4 separate regions of the Homo sapiens genome follow, and all the other regions are linked to region 3. The links are contacts of gene promoters, found by promoter capture Hi-C in human tissues and cell types (Jung and others, 2019). All regions are on one chromosome and are shown on one strand. The core of a region is centred on a gene start or on the middle of the fragment in contact, and the rest is flanking DNA. Distances in the headings are between cores, read along the strand shown.

What was found. Contacts are between HindIII fragments. The study calls those that stand out against the background at their distance.
Region 1: a contact is called between a fragment that was not itself captured here and the fragment with the promoter of A3GALT2 in region 3, in 2 of the 25 tissues and cell types used here (adrenal gland and dorsolateral prefrontal cortex).
Region 2: a fragment that was not itself captured here is called in contact with the fragment with the promoter of A3GALT2 in region 3 in 1 of the 25 tissues and cell types used here (adrenal gland).
Region 4: a fragment that was not itself captured here is called in contact with the fragment with the promoter of A3GALT2 in region 3 in 1 of the 25 tissues and cell types used here (bladder).

Annotation. Positions count from the first base shown.
Region 1 is chr1:33,474,426-33,477,528 of GRCh38, forward strand. All of the region lies in intron 1 of ZSCAN20 (zinc finger and SCAN domain containing 20), which reads left to right. Among named protein-coding and RNA genes, the nearest start is that of ZSCAN20, 3.3 kb to the left of the region's middle. The HindIII fragment of the contact is 5,454 bases long and covers 1-3,103 here.
Region 2 is chr1:33,142,148-33,145,557 of GRCh38, forward strand. TRIM62 (tripartite motif containing 62) reads right to left here. Exons shown (of 5, transcript NM_018207.3): 5 at 3,252-3,410. It also overlaps a transcript of AZIN2 not described here and a transcript of ZNF362 not described here. Among named protein-coding and RNA genes, the nearest start is that of TRIM62, 38 kb to the right of the region's middle. The HindIII fragment of the contact is 3,913 bases long and covers 1-3,410 here.
Region 3 is chr1:33,319,709-33,322,736 of GRCh38, forward strand. It overlaps A3GALT2 (alpha 1,3-galactosyltransferase 2), which reads right to left and starts at 1,390. Exons shown (of 5, transcript NM_001080438.1): 1 at 1,368-1,390. The coding sequence starts at 1,390. The HindIII fragment of the contact is 15,797 bases long and covers 1-3,028 here.
Region 4 is chr1:33,189,372-33,192,579 of GRCh38, forward strand. It overlaps a transcript of ZNF362 not described here. Among named protein-coding and RNA genes, the nearest start is that of TRIM62, 8.9 kb to the left of the region's middle. RefSeq lists an enhancer at 2,809-2,978. The HindIII fragment of the contact is 4,880 bases long and covers 1-3,208 here.

The DNA.
Region 1 (3,103 bases), core at 425-2,924, 160 kb after region 3:
CTTTTCACTGAGTGGGCTCCTCATGACCACGTTCATACTTACTGCCCTAGGAGTCAAGATGCCCCTCAGCTTCCCTGTGTTTGTAAAGACATCTTGATTTTGATGGCAGTCAGCACTTATCCCTCATGACCTGGGAGGCTCTGTACTCTTTCTAGGTCTTTCTGGATATTGGAAGAGAGCTTTGAGATCACTTAGCTGAATCTAAGTGGCAAAGCGACAGCCCATGCTGAATGAAGTCCACCATCATGCTTTATTTAATCTCATAGTGTGTGAAAAAATTTTGAGTTGGTTACCAACATTTAAAAATCCAGAGTGCTAGTTTCTTTTGGAAAAATCAGCAGGCTTAGGAATATTCTGGGCATATGTTCCCCTGGCACTCTATAGTTGGCTGTAGTGCCCACCCAGTTCATTTCAGTCATTGACTCATTTACATTGCTAGGTCCTTATACCCATTTAAACTTGTAGCCACTGACTCTAGTCTCCCTTCTCCCTTGCTCTACCCCATCATACTAATTGGGGAACCTAGGGCAACTGCTGAGTAAGATCAGGCTGTAAGCTGCAGCCTAGCTAGGCAGCCACAGGGGCTACATAACTTGTCCAAAGTAACACAGCTGATTAGTGGCAGGAGTGGAACTAGAACCCCAGTCTGCTCACTCCTGCCTTAATGTTCTTTCCATTCTCCCGTACTGTCATCTTAAGAGTTTGGATGACTAGCACACATAGAGGAGGCTATAAGACATGGTTAAGAAAAATGATTGGAGAAAAGGGATCTCGGCTTAGACCCTAACTCTACCACTTGCTAGTTGTGTAACCTTAAGTGAATCTTCATAAACACTCAGTTTCCCTTTAGGTAATTGAGGATATAGTGCAGTCATACCTTATCAGATAATAATATTCTAAGGGTGAAAATCACTTTAGCCAAAAATCACAGTTAGTTTGAAAATCCTTTGGCAAGGAGCCGTTTCAGAAACTAACACGCTGCCTTTCAATAAATAAACTAATCAGCACAGCTGGGCTTTCTTGTTTGAACATTAGATGAGAATTCGCTTGTATTAGGGACTGTGCGGTATGAAAGACACTTTACTCACACTTAGTGGAAAGAGAGGCACGAGGGAATCAAGACCAACCTGGTGAATAGCGAAGTCCTAGGTGCCACCACCACATGCTTATTCTCGAACAGATAGTGAACGCAACTGGCTGCACTATTTAAATCATGCTCTTTCTCTCTTTCTTTTTTTTTTCTTCTTTTTCTGAGACAGAGTCGTGCTCTGTTGCCCAGGCTGGAGTGCAGTGGCACGATCTCAGCTCACTGCAACCTCCGCCTCCTGGGTTTAAGCAATTCTCCTGCCTCAGCCTCCCGAGTAGCTGGGATTACAGGTACGAGCCACCACGCTTGGCTATTTTTTTTTTTTTTTTGTATTTTTAGTAGAGACAGGGTTTCACCATGTTGGCCAGGCTGGTCTCGAACTCCTGACCTTGTGATCTCCCTGCCTCGGCCTCCCAAAGTGCTGGGATTACAGGCGTGAGCCACCGCGCCCGGCCCTCTTTCTCTCTTTCTGATCTTTGCAGTGGAAGTTACAGATCAGTGAAATGCAGCTCAACACCTAATGAGACTCCAGTTGCTGCCTGGAGGCTTCAGTGAGATTATGAATGTGGAACACAGCACTGTGCCTGGCACCTTGTGGGCACTCAGTAAAGGGGTACTCTTAGAAATTGCTGGTCCTAATGAGGCTCGATATTCCTGGTCATCTCGGAACTGAGGAATGCCCCGGTCCATTTTCCCTTGTTCACTTCTGTGTGAAGTCACCCGGCTGTTGGCCGACTCTGTTGGCCTCCCTCTCCCCACAATAGCCTGCTATCCATACTTCGGTCTAACTTCCTTAGAAAGTTACGGTTATGGTTCCTTAGAAAAAAAAGGTTATGGTGATATGTGGTCCCTGGGGCTTTCCGATTTCTATTTGAAACAAACCTTTGGGACTTTCAAGTCTTTCCAGGAGAAAATACCTATTATCTGAGACTCTGAGCTTTGGGCCTGGTGTGACTGCTAATTGCCTATTTTGTTGTAGTGTCCTGTTTGTGCAGGAACGCAAATGTCTTTGCTTGCTTATTGACTGTCTGTCTCACTAGACTGTAATTTTATTGAAGGTAGGGACTGTCAGTCCCAGCTACTGGTAGATCTGTAGCTTCCAAACAGGGTATAGCTGGTACTCTATAAATGATTGATGAATTGCTCCTTGTGTGAGAGGGTGACAGAAATGTGTTTGAACTCATGCATCAATAAGGTTGTGGTTCAAAAAGAAATTTCATGAAAGGCGAATTCTTTAGGTTCAAAAAGAAATTTCATGAAAGGCAAAATCTTTCTACATATGTGATCTCTCTGAGTGCTTATAGCAGTAATGTAGGTAGACAGAAATAGTTTAGTTTAATATAAATTATGGAATATCTGTATCCCATTAGGCTTTTGATACGCCAGGTTTATCATTTTAATACATGGTAATAAAACTTTTTAATGGCCCTGCTATTTATCAGATACTGGGTTGAGCACTGTGGATACAGAAATTAGTAACATACAATACTGATTCTAGTAATATAGTATAATGTGGGTGTCAGATATAGTAACAGGTAACTACAATAGTGTAGGATAATACCTATATTAGAGGTATGTACCAATTGCTTTGGTGATATAGGATCAGGGAGGCAATTCTTGGAGGGCAGGACATGAAAAGGGCATGTCAAGGAACTCCTATCAAAGGAGGTGACATTTGAGCTGGTGGTTGAAGGATGAGTAGGAAGCTGCCAGGTAGCCATGAGTTGTGCTTTAAGCCTCTTCCTAAGCATATGGAGGCCTTTAGGGCAAGACTTTAATTTTTATTACCCTTGTCTTGTTTCTCTTCAGTCCAGTCAGATTGCCCAAAATGAAAAATACCACCATCTCTCCATTCTCAATTCAGTTGTGTCATTCCCACTTGGAAGCAGCTAATGATCTCCTTTGAGTGGGCATTTTTTATGTCACCCAGACTTGTTGGGATGACACAGAGAGCTCATTTTTTCAAATAACCCAGCATGGGTGCCATCAGAGAGGCTGTAATCTCCTCTGGGACAC
Region 2 (3,410 bases), core at 648-3,147, 180 kb before region 3:
TTTAAGCCTGTGATACCGGGCCTTTGCAACTGACCTTGTGGTGATGTGCTTTGGGGTGGTGAACAGAGCTGGGACCCAGGCAGGAGGGGAGGAGACAGAGTGCTGCCCAGGTGTGAGCAGTCAGCCTCTCGAGATGGCCTCCCTGGCAGGAGGGAAGGCCCCATCCCCAGAACCCTTGAGCTGAGTTCTGTGCTGCCAAGAGAATGTATCTCTGTTGTTTTCTGTCCCTGCTGCCACCCCAGAGAGAAGGAGCCAGAGCTAATGGCCTTATTAGGTGCTGAGCAGGGCAAGCCGTGGGACCTAACGTTAGACTTACAGAATCCTGGACCATCAGAGCTCAGGCCCTGGCAATTAATCAACTAGAATAGATACCTAACCCTTCCCCAATAGAGATGGGGAAACTGAGGACCAGGGAAGGAGAGAGACTTGCTCAGGGTCACATGGGGCCTTTCTAACTCCACCTCTGACCCTGGGAGAAGCTTGGCTCACAATTGAGACTTGACTTACAATTGCACAATTCCGCAGTGGCGTGGAGCCTGGTTTAACCTCCCACTTTAAATCCCAGGGAGATCACAGTCCTGGTGGCTGCTGCCTGTCACTGGAGCCATCATCAAAGTTGAGAAGCATTTCCAGAGAGGTCCAGTAAAGAGACATCTGGCTTTAGCTTTGGATGGACCGGGTTTGATTTCCAGCTCTGCCGAGTACTGGCTGTGGGTCCTCTGGGAAGTGACGTTTCCCTGCTCAAACACTGAGATAATGATACCAACCACAGGGGCGTGTCTCGATGGTTAGATAAGGTGTAAAAAGGACCAGTACTTTGCTTGCTGACTACAAATGGGGGCTCCAAATGGGGTTACTGCCATTCTATCATTTTTATCTGTCCTGGGTAAGGGCTTTGTTGATCCCTCCTTCCTTCCCAAGCCTGGCCTTTGTCCCCTCTCTTCACTTAATGTGTTAAATGTGGGGTTCATGATATCAGCCTGACAACCCCAGATTCTTTCCTTCAGGAATTCTCTGGACGTGTATCAAATATATCTCTTGGAGACACCCCCATTTCCAGGAGTCCCCAGTTGATAATGCAAATTTGGCCTCTATAGTTACTTCCACACACGTGGAAACTGTGAGTAAAGCCTGGGAAGTGGCCAGCATTTCTTGGAGCTGCTGCTGAGGCTGAGTGGGGAGAAGGTGGAATGCGCCATGGAGGGGGTGCTCCGACCCCAGAGGGAGAAGGCTGAGCAAAGACAGATCCACTGAGCCAAAATGAGAGGGCGTGGTTTTAGAGCAGTCACAGGGATCTGAGAGGATGGGGGAGGGCTTGGGATACTCTAGTCTCAGAATCACCCCAGTCACTTCCCTGTGAACTGGGCTGCTCTCCATCAGACAATCAGAGACCTCTCCACCCACCCCTGCCAACAGCCCCTCTCCCATCCTCGTTCTCATTCCTCTTCCTAGAAACCCAGGCGAGTCAATGACTGGGGTGGTTCCCTCTCCCCAGCTCCAGGCTGTAGATGAAGATCCACCTGTGGCCTGCAGCCTAACCTCCCTCATTCTGTGGGTGAGGAGGCCAAGAATGGCTTAGGGTGAAAATGACTTAACAGAAAGCCAACACCAGTCCTGGGCTCCCAGGGGTGCTGTACTCCCTTGCACACTGCAGAGAGCACCCAGTGGCCTGGGAGACACAGTAGCAAATGGAAGAAGCTACTTCCCTCATTTCTGTTTGCCAGCATAATTTCACAAGCCTCTGACTCTGTGACCATGTGCGGCTCTGTGGAGGGATACTTTGGAGACAAGACAGAATAGTGGGCATGGCCCCCATGTCTCTTGCCTGAGTCACTACGTTCCTTAAAAGATAAATAAACCTAGTCCTTGCCTTTTCCTGTACAGAAGATAGTGTCTGATGGCATTCATGATTATGCCTCTGTAATCTATAGCCCAGACACACTCTTACATGCAAACGTTGATATATGATTCCGCTTTAATGTTACTTCTTTTTTTTTTTTTTTTTTTTGAGACGGAGTTTCGCTCTTTGCCCAGGCTGGAGTGCAATGGCGCGATCTCCAGCTCACCGCAACCTCCGCCTCCCGGGTTCAAGAGATTCTCCTGCCTCAGCCTCCCGAGCAGCTGGGATTACAGGCATGTGCCACCACACCCGGCTAATTTTGTATTTTTTAGTAGAGACGGGGTTTCTCCACGTTGGTCAGGGCGGTTTTGAACTCCCAACCTCAGGTGATCCGCCTGCCTTGGCCTCCCAAAGTGTTGGGATTACAGGCATGAGCCACTGCGCCCGGTGGCTTTAATGTTACTTCTGAGCAAGTGTGATGTGATTTTGCGTGTACTAAACCTCCACCACCTGTATATAAGCAGTGGGCTAAAATACTGTCCTGGGCCCGACTGATAGAACCTCTCTAAAGGGCCGCTGCTGGGCTCTAGGCCTGTCTATAGTACTCAGTAAGACTTCTAAGTAAAGTGAACTTTAATTCTTTAAAAGCTTGATATTTCTTCTTTAGTCGACAGTCTTTTCCACTTAAGTGTGCACAGCCTGTGTGTCCACATGCAGAGCCTGTCCTAACTCCCAGCCAGGATGCTTCCTCATCAGTCAGAGGTGGGATGGACCTCAGGATGGTCCTGGTCTAGGTGGTTCCATACCCGTCACAGCCCATAAGGAGAAAGACAGACTTCTTGGGTCAGAGCCAGCCCAGAGGTTCAGGAAACCCATACAGCTCCAGGCACTGACTCTGGGAGGCAGCTGGGGGGATAGGGTAGGGCCTCCTTAAGTGCACTGCACTTTACAGCTTACCAATAAATTATGTGAAATTGGTATCCTCATCTTCCATGTGGGAAAACTGAGTCCCAGAGAGGGTGGTCATTTTTCTAAAGTCACACAGTGATGGAGCCTGGATTTGAGCTGAGGTCTGTGTGGTTCCCGAGACCAGGCTCTTGCCACTGCCCCATGAGCTGCCTGCTGCCTGCTCCCAAGACTACCACCACCTCTCCTCCAGGTAAAGACTGACAGCCTTCCCTGGCTGGTAAGTTTTTGGACAGGTTTGTGGTGTGGCACTTGCCAGCATGGGATATGGGACCCCAGGTAAGTCTTGGCTTCTCTCTGAACCTCAATTTTCCTCCTCTGTAAAATGAGCATAATACCATTTACCCAGCCGGGCTGCTTTGTGGATTAGCTATGCTCATGTGTGTGCACTGCCTGGGACAGAGCTGGGTGGGCCTGTGTGTTTGTCAAAATGAATGGAACTGGCTACTGACATCTGTAACTTTAATTTAATACAAATTGATCATAACTCATAAAATGGGCAACATTTTAAATAAAAATACTGCTGGGGTGGCCCAGATTCTGGTAGTTGAAGGGTTGGGGTAGGGCTGACAATTCCTTTTGCCCAAGGGAGGCCCGGGTGGCG
Region 3 (3,028 bases), core at 140-2,639:
ATCTCAGCATCCTCTCCTCCCCTGTCAGCTCAGGGTCCTGCCAGTCATTCCCTGCCTCCTGGGGCACCAGGCTTTCCAGTCCCTAGTTCTACCCCCTGGGGATCAACTAATCAGCTTGTTTCTCCTCCAATAAGTATCCGTGTTCTTTAGGTGAAAAGCCCCAACCTACTGCAGGTTTTCAGGGTGCACCTTCAGTAGGCATTTGCCATTCCTGTTTACACTTTACACCAAGGCATTTGCACGGCGGGTAATGGGTGGGGTTGGGCTTTGAGTAGGACTGCCCGATCCCCCAGCCAGAGCTTCCAGCATGGCATTTGGGTTCCATTTGACCTGGGCCTAGCTCAGCCCTGAGGCTCATCTCACAAGGTTCTCGGCCCTGTTATTTCTCCCCGTGGGCTTGGCTTCTTCCCTTCGCACTCTATTCAGCTCCTGTCTGAGCTCCTGGAGGGCTGGCTGCAGCTGGGCTTCTCTGGTTCCTAGAAGCCTGGTCAAACCCCGTACTGGGAGCTGGCAAGGCTGCCTCGGGAGGTGCACTGTGGGAGGTGTGCGAGGTACTGCGTAAGGTACTACAGGAGCAGGAAAAGGCTGGAGGGGCTTTCTCCCCCTCTGTGGCTGTCCCACCCTCTTCACCAGCCTCCTCCCAACCAGGGTAGGGCAAACCGATGCTTATTCTGGGCTCTGGGCCTCAGCCAGGGCACACAGGCAGAGTTGGTCTTGTGAACTCCTGTGGTCAGGCCTGGGAGGGTGCTGAGACCCAGGACTGGGTGGGACCCACCAGCTCCTCCTGCCCCTCCTATGCCCCAGCCTGGGAGCCCGTGGTCTGTGGAGGCCCCTGATCAGTCCACTCCTCCACATTTCTTGTTCAGGTTCTACCTGCAGAAGGTGGTCCCTCAAGCTCCACCCTGTGCCCTGCTCCCCACTCTCGTTGGCTTCAAGAAAGGGTTAAAGATCAGCCATTAGGTCTTAAGGGGGCACAGGTTCCTAGTCCTGGACCATCAGTCCCAGTGGGGATAGAGGGAGCTCTCAGTTACAGTCGGGGAGGGAATGTACCCCCGGGTCTCTGCTTTCCGGCTCGCCAAGGGGGTTTAGAGTTAAGGGAAGCAAGGGGAGTCCAGCTTTTCATTGGCTACAAAATCTTGTGGAATACAACCTCCCCCACCCCGGTGTCCATGCACACGGATTGTCTTTCTTCTCCTGGGGCAATGTCCCCTCTCGGAGCCACCTTTCCCCAGGACTGGAGGCTCAGCTGGTACTCCTGGGCTCACTCTGGTGCCTCCCCTTGGTACTGTTTTAGCCATCAGACTGGATCCCTCTTAGCTCAGCTGTCCCCAAGCTTTCTTCCTCTCCATACCATTGTCCCCCCTCACCTGAGTCCCTCCTTGAGAGCCATATGGGGAAGCAGGTAGGATGGCCTGGAGCAAACTTTCCCAGCTTAGAGCTGGGGAAGAAATGGCCTGCTCCTGGAGATCTGGAACAAGCAGCTCCTCCCCCTTTACCTGAGGAGCTGCACCCACAGGAGCAGTCAGGATGGACTGCCTGCGAGGGACCTGCCGGGGATGCAACCTTTTGGGGGAAGCTGGCCCCAAGGTGGAGTGGGGCTGGCAACCCTTTTGGGGCCAATCACCTGGAAGAGGGTGGGTCTGAGTAGGCCAGTTCTGGTTGGCTGGAGGCTCTGTCATTTTGTACAGACTCCTCTTCCCTCCCCAGGGGAAGTGTCTTTGGTTCTTGGGAACAGCTGGCAATCAAGGTATGGTGTTTGCCACGCAGGAAAAGCCGTTCTGCACAGAGCCTCAGCCAGATCTGAAGGGCACTCGGCACCTGTGACCTTGGACAGTTCACCTAGTGGAGCCCTTTACCTTCTCAGTAGAATGTACACCAGTACATACACCAGTCACCCAGGAGAGAGAACCATGTAAATTCGTGGATGTTGAACCGTTGTGATTTACTCTGGGCAGTGCTTTTTAAAGTTCCAGTTGTGACCTATCTGAAGGCCGTGTAATGAGTTTAGTGGGTCGTGACCAAGATTTTTAAAATACGAACAGGAATACAATGGAAAATATTCTATATTGTACGTAAGGGTAGGTTTTGTTTCATGAAATGTTTGTTTCAGTTGATAGATATTGAAATGTGTATACAAGTTTGGGAAATATTTCTTTAAATTGTGGATCATGATGGAAATAGGTCTGTGAAATTCAGTGTGAAGTGTAAACAACAGGAATAGCAAATGCCTATTGCAGGTGCACCCTGCAAACTTGCAGCAGGTTGGAGCTTTTCATCTAAAGAAGATGGATACTTATTGGTGTGAATCAAATTCACCACATCTTCTTTTAGGAGTAGGTTTGGTTCCCTCCCTCTTTGCTACACACAACAAACTCAGGTGGGGCCTGGTTTTCATTTTCTTCCATAAAGGGAAAATTAAGGTCCAGAAAGTGAAAAGAACTGCCCAGAGTCCTATAGGCCAGTGGTGCACCTGCGCACGTGGCCTGCACTCCAGCAGCAGGAGAGGCGGCAGCACATGGGGCGTTCGTTCTTGCCTGGGGGCTCCCCAGGGCTCACTCCCCAATCTCAGCATCCTCCTCCTCCCGTCAGCTCAGGGTCCTGCCAGCCATTCCCTGCCTCCTGGGACAGGCTTTCCAGTCCCTAGTTCTACCCCCTGGGGATCAACTAATCAGTGTGTTTCTCCTCCAAGACAGTTCCATTTTAATAGGCTTTCCAAAGAGGAGTTATTAAGATGTGAGTGTTGGTTCTTGAAAGTTACTTTCAAGTAAGTAATTGTCCTTTAGAGACTGTGATTCAGTAGGTTGTGGCCTGACCCTCAAACCACCCCCACCCCTGCTTTTTTTTTAAAAAAAAATAGGGTTTTTGTCTGTCACCTGGGTTGGGGGTGCAGTGGTGCAATCATAGCTCACTGCAGCCTTGAACTCTTGGGCTCAAGTGATCGACCTCAGCCTCCAGAATAGCTGGGATTACAGGTATGCACCACCTTGCCATTTTTTGGTATTTTTTTGTAGATATGGGGTCTCTCTAT
Region 4 (3,208 bases), core at 327-2,826, 130 kb before region 3:
AGTTCATGACAACGTTCCATGTCCACCCTTCAATGGATTACTGTTGCACATACTCGACTATACAGTTGGGTGGATCTGACAGTACACAACTTACAATGGGAAACTCTGGCTATATAATCAGTTGATCCCCCATATATATATATTCTACATCGTTTATTGTAACTCTTGTCAGTTGTTAAGCTGTTGCCTCTTAGCGCCGCAACCACACTTCTGTATCAACTTGTGTAGTGCTGGGGCTGGGGTTCAGAAATTCACATTCCAGCATATATATATATATATATATATATATATATATATATATGTATATATATACGTATATATATATACACATATATACGTATATATATACATACACACATACACATATATATATATACACATACTGTTGTCACCTCTGCTTTGGGTGACCCTCACCAGTTTCTTTACAGATTAAGAAACCGATGTGAGGTTTCTACTGCCTGCTGAGTTTACTAATCCCAATTAAGTATTCAGGGATGGGGAAAATAGTCACAGGAGGGTGTGAAGACCCACTGGACTCACTGTAAAATGGGCTTTGGCAAAGACTCCATTTATCATCTTGCCTCCATATCTCCTTACTTTAACAGGAGGGCTATAGTGGCAATTTGGATCCCCTGGAATCAGTGTCAGTCCGGACTCTGAATTCCCCAACTATAGAAATATCTGGATATTTTTGTTCTCCTGTGTACAGTTACTGTGGTACTGGGTCTGAGGACTAGCTTAAGCATGAAAAATGGGTGAGGGATAGTGATTTTCCACTGTGATGGCTCACCTCAGTCTTCACATTACATGCTCTTGATCTGTTTTTATTATATTGGGCAGCAATACCCTTGCTAGTCACCCACTGATCTCGCCCTTAGGAACTTCAGGGTCTATTAGCAATCCCACAGATCTCTGTGGGTAAGGGCCCCTTGGTTGAGTTTCTGACTTTGCTGCCCATTATGGTAATTCCATACACTATGTGTCTGATGGTTAAGTGCTGCTACCTGGCCTCTGCTGTTCTGGAATCCTATTGTCACCATTAAGAAACAGTAGGAACTCCAGTTCCCTAGCAGCTACAACACAATATAGAAGGGGCAGCCACCACTGAGTTGCTCAATGATGTCAGTGCCCCTTCAGGAGCTCATTCTTTATTGCTCCAGTGAAGGTGTACTGGAAACATACTAAGCTACTAAGCTGGTGGTCTTTTGGTTTTAGGCAATACATTTCTCCTCTGAACTTTTGACTCCTTTCTCCAGTTATGTCAGTTCACACATTTCTACATTGTTTATTGTAACTCTTGTCAGTAGTTAAGCTGTCACCTCTTAGCGCCACAACCACCCTTCTGTATCAACTTGTGTAGTGCTGGGGCTGGGGTTCAGAAATTCACATTCCAGCATTGCCAGTTGCTCCCTGTTATGCCTGCCAATGAGGAGGGCAGGAGGGAATTGATGTCGCAGCATCAGGAAGGAGGGACTTGCTTCTTCCTATTGACTTCCTGTCAGCTTCCTGTTCCTGTGAGCATCACCCTAGCAACGCTTCTTCACCCTGGCATCAGCAGCATCTTTCCTTAGCAGCAGCTGAATCCAGTTTGCAGTTTCCCAACACTTCCTAGCACCAGTTTCCAACACTTTGGTGTTCCTCCTCAGAGATCTGAGTTTTGGTTTCTTGGAACTTCTCTTGTAAGCTTCTAAATTTTGATAATTCCACTTCTTATTTTGTTTCACCAGCCGTGGGCATGGTATCTGCTTTTGTCATTGCTATCTTTGTGACAACTTAGCATTCTCTTTTTACCTTTGCAGTTACCTACTTAATAATTTTATACCTACTTAAGAATACACTACATTAGATCTCTATTTAAATTAGTGGTGTAGTTTCTACCTCCTGATTGGACACTGATCCTTTTGTCCTCTGAACCATCCCAGCTCCAAGTGTTCTTGCCAGGATGGTAAGTGCAGAAGCTCAGGAGACTTCGTCCTTATCAACAACTCTTCTCTTCTCCATCCCTATGTTCCATTTCCCTTCTTCCTATGTTCCTTCCCTTCCCAAAGCAGGCACATCTTCCAGCTTTTTATTGGTATCTATTAGGCAGGTCCTGCAGTTCTTTTAGTAAACATCCTTTTTTTTGTTTTTGTTTTTGTTTTTGTTTTTGTTTTTTGAGATGGAGTCTCGCTGTGTCCCCCAGGCAGGCAATGGCACGATCTTGGTTCACTGCAACCACTGCCTCCCAGGTTCAAGTGATTCTCCTGTCTCAGCCTCCCAAGTAGCTGGGACTACAGGTGTGCACCACCACACCTGGCTAATTTTTGTATTTTTAGAAGAGATGGGGTTTCACCATATTGGCCAGGCTGGTCCTGAACTCCTGACCTCAGGTGATTCACCTGCCTCAACCTCCCAAAGTGCTGGGATTACAGGCATAAGCCTGGCCAAAATCCTGTTTCTTTAAGCAGAGATAGTACCTCCTCAATGGTTGAGTGATGAGATTTAACCCTAGTGATTGACCTAGAAGACGCAAGAGAATGTAGAAGCAGATCTTGAAGAGGGCAAGTATCATCTTGCAAGGCATCTGCCTTAGGGGAGGCCTCTGCATAGTTTCCAGGCAAGAGGAGGAAGCCTATTATCCTCTAGCAAACGGGAGTGGGACACTTCTACTACTTTCATCATTAGGTTCTGGATGTGGTTTTCAGACCTATCTGCCCTCCAGCTGTAGGAAATTAGGGGATTTTAAAATGCTGTCATAGTGGCTTTCTAGGTTTCATACCATCCCCTGGGCTGGTAATTGACTAATTTGACCCTATCATTTTCCTCCTTTAGCACTTCAATGGTACTTAACAACAACCAACAAACTCCACCAGTTCTTTAACTACCATTGCCTCCACATCTCTCAGATGTTAGAGAGACTTCATAAATGGTTGTATCCCCTTGTATCTGTATCTTGTCCCCCAATTCATCCTAGGCCTCTACAATATATTAAAGACCATCAATAATGGAATCTTATTACCATTGGCCGACAAATTTTACAATCCTAGATTCCATCCTTGGGATCTAAGACCACTTCTGATCTGAGCTTAGAAGACCAGATACAGACCGCCACACAAAGATTTGAGTTAAATTAGCTTATTTGGAAAGTGACTATTTGGGTAGAGAAGTGGGAATTGATAAAGAAAAGGAAGGCAGACAATAAGAGTGCTACCACAGTGGTTTATTAACG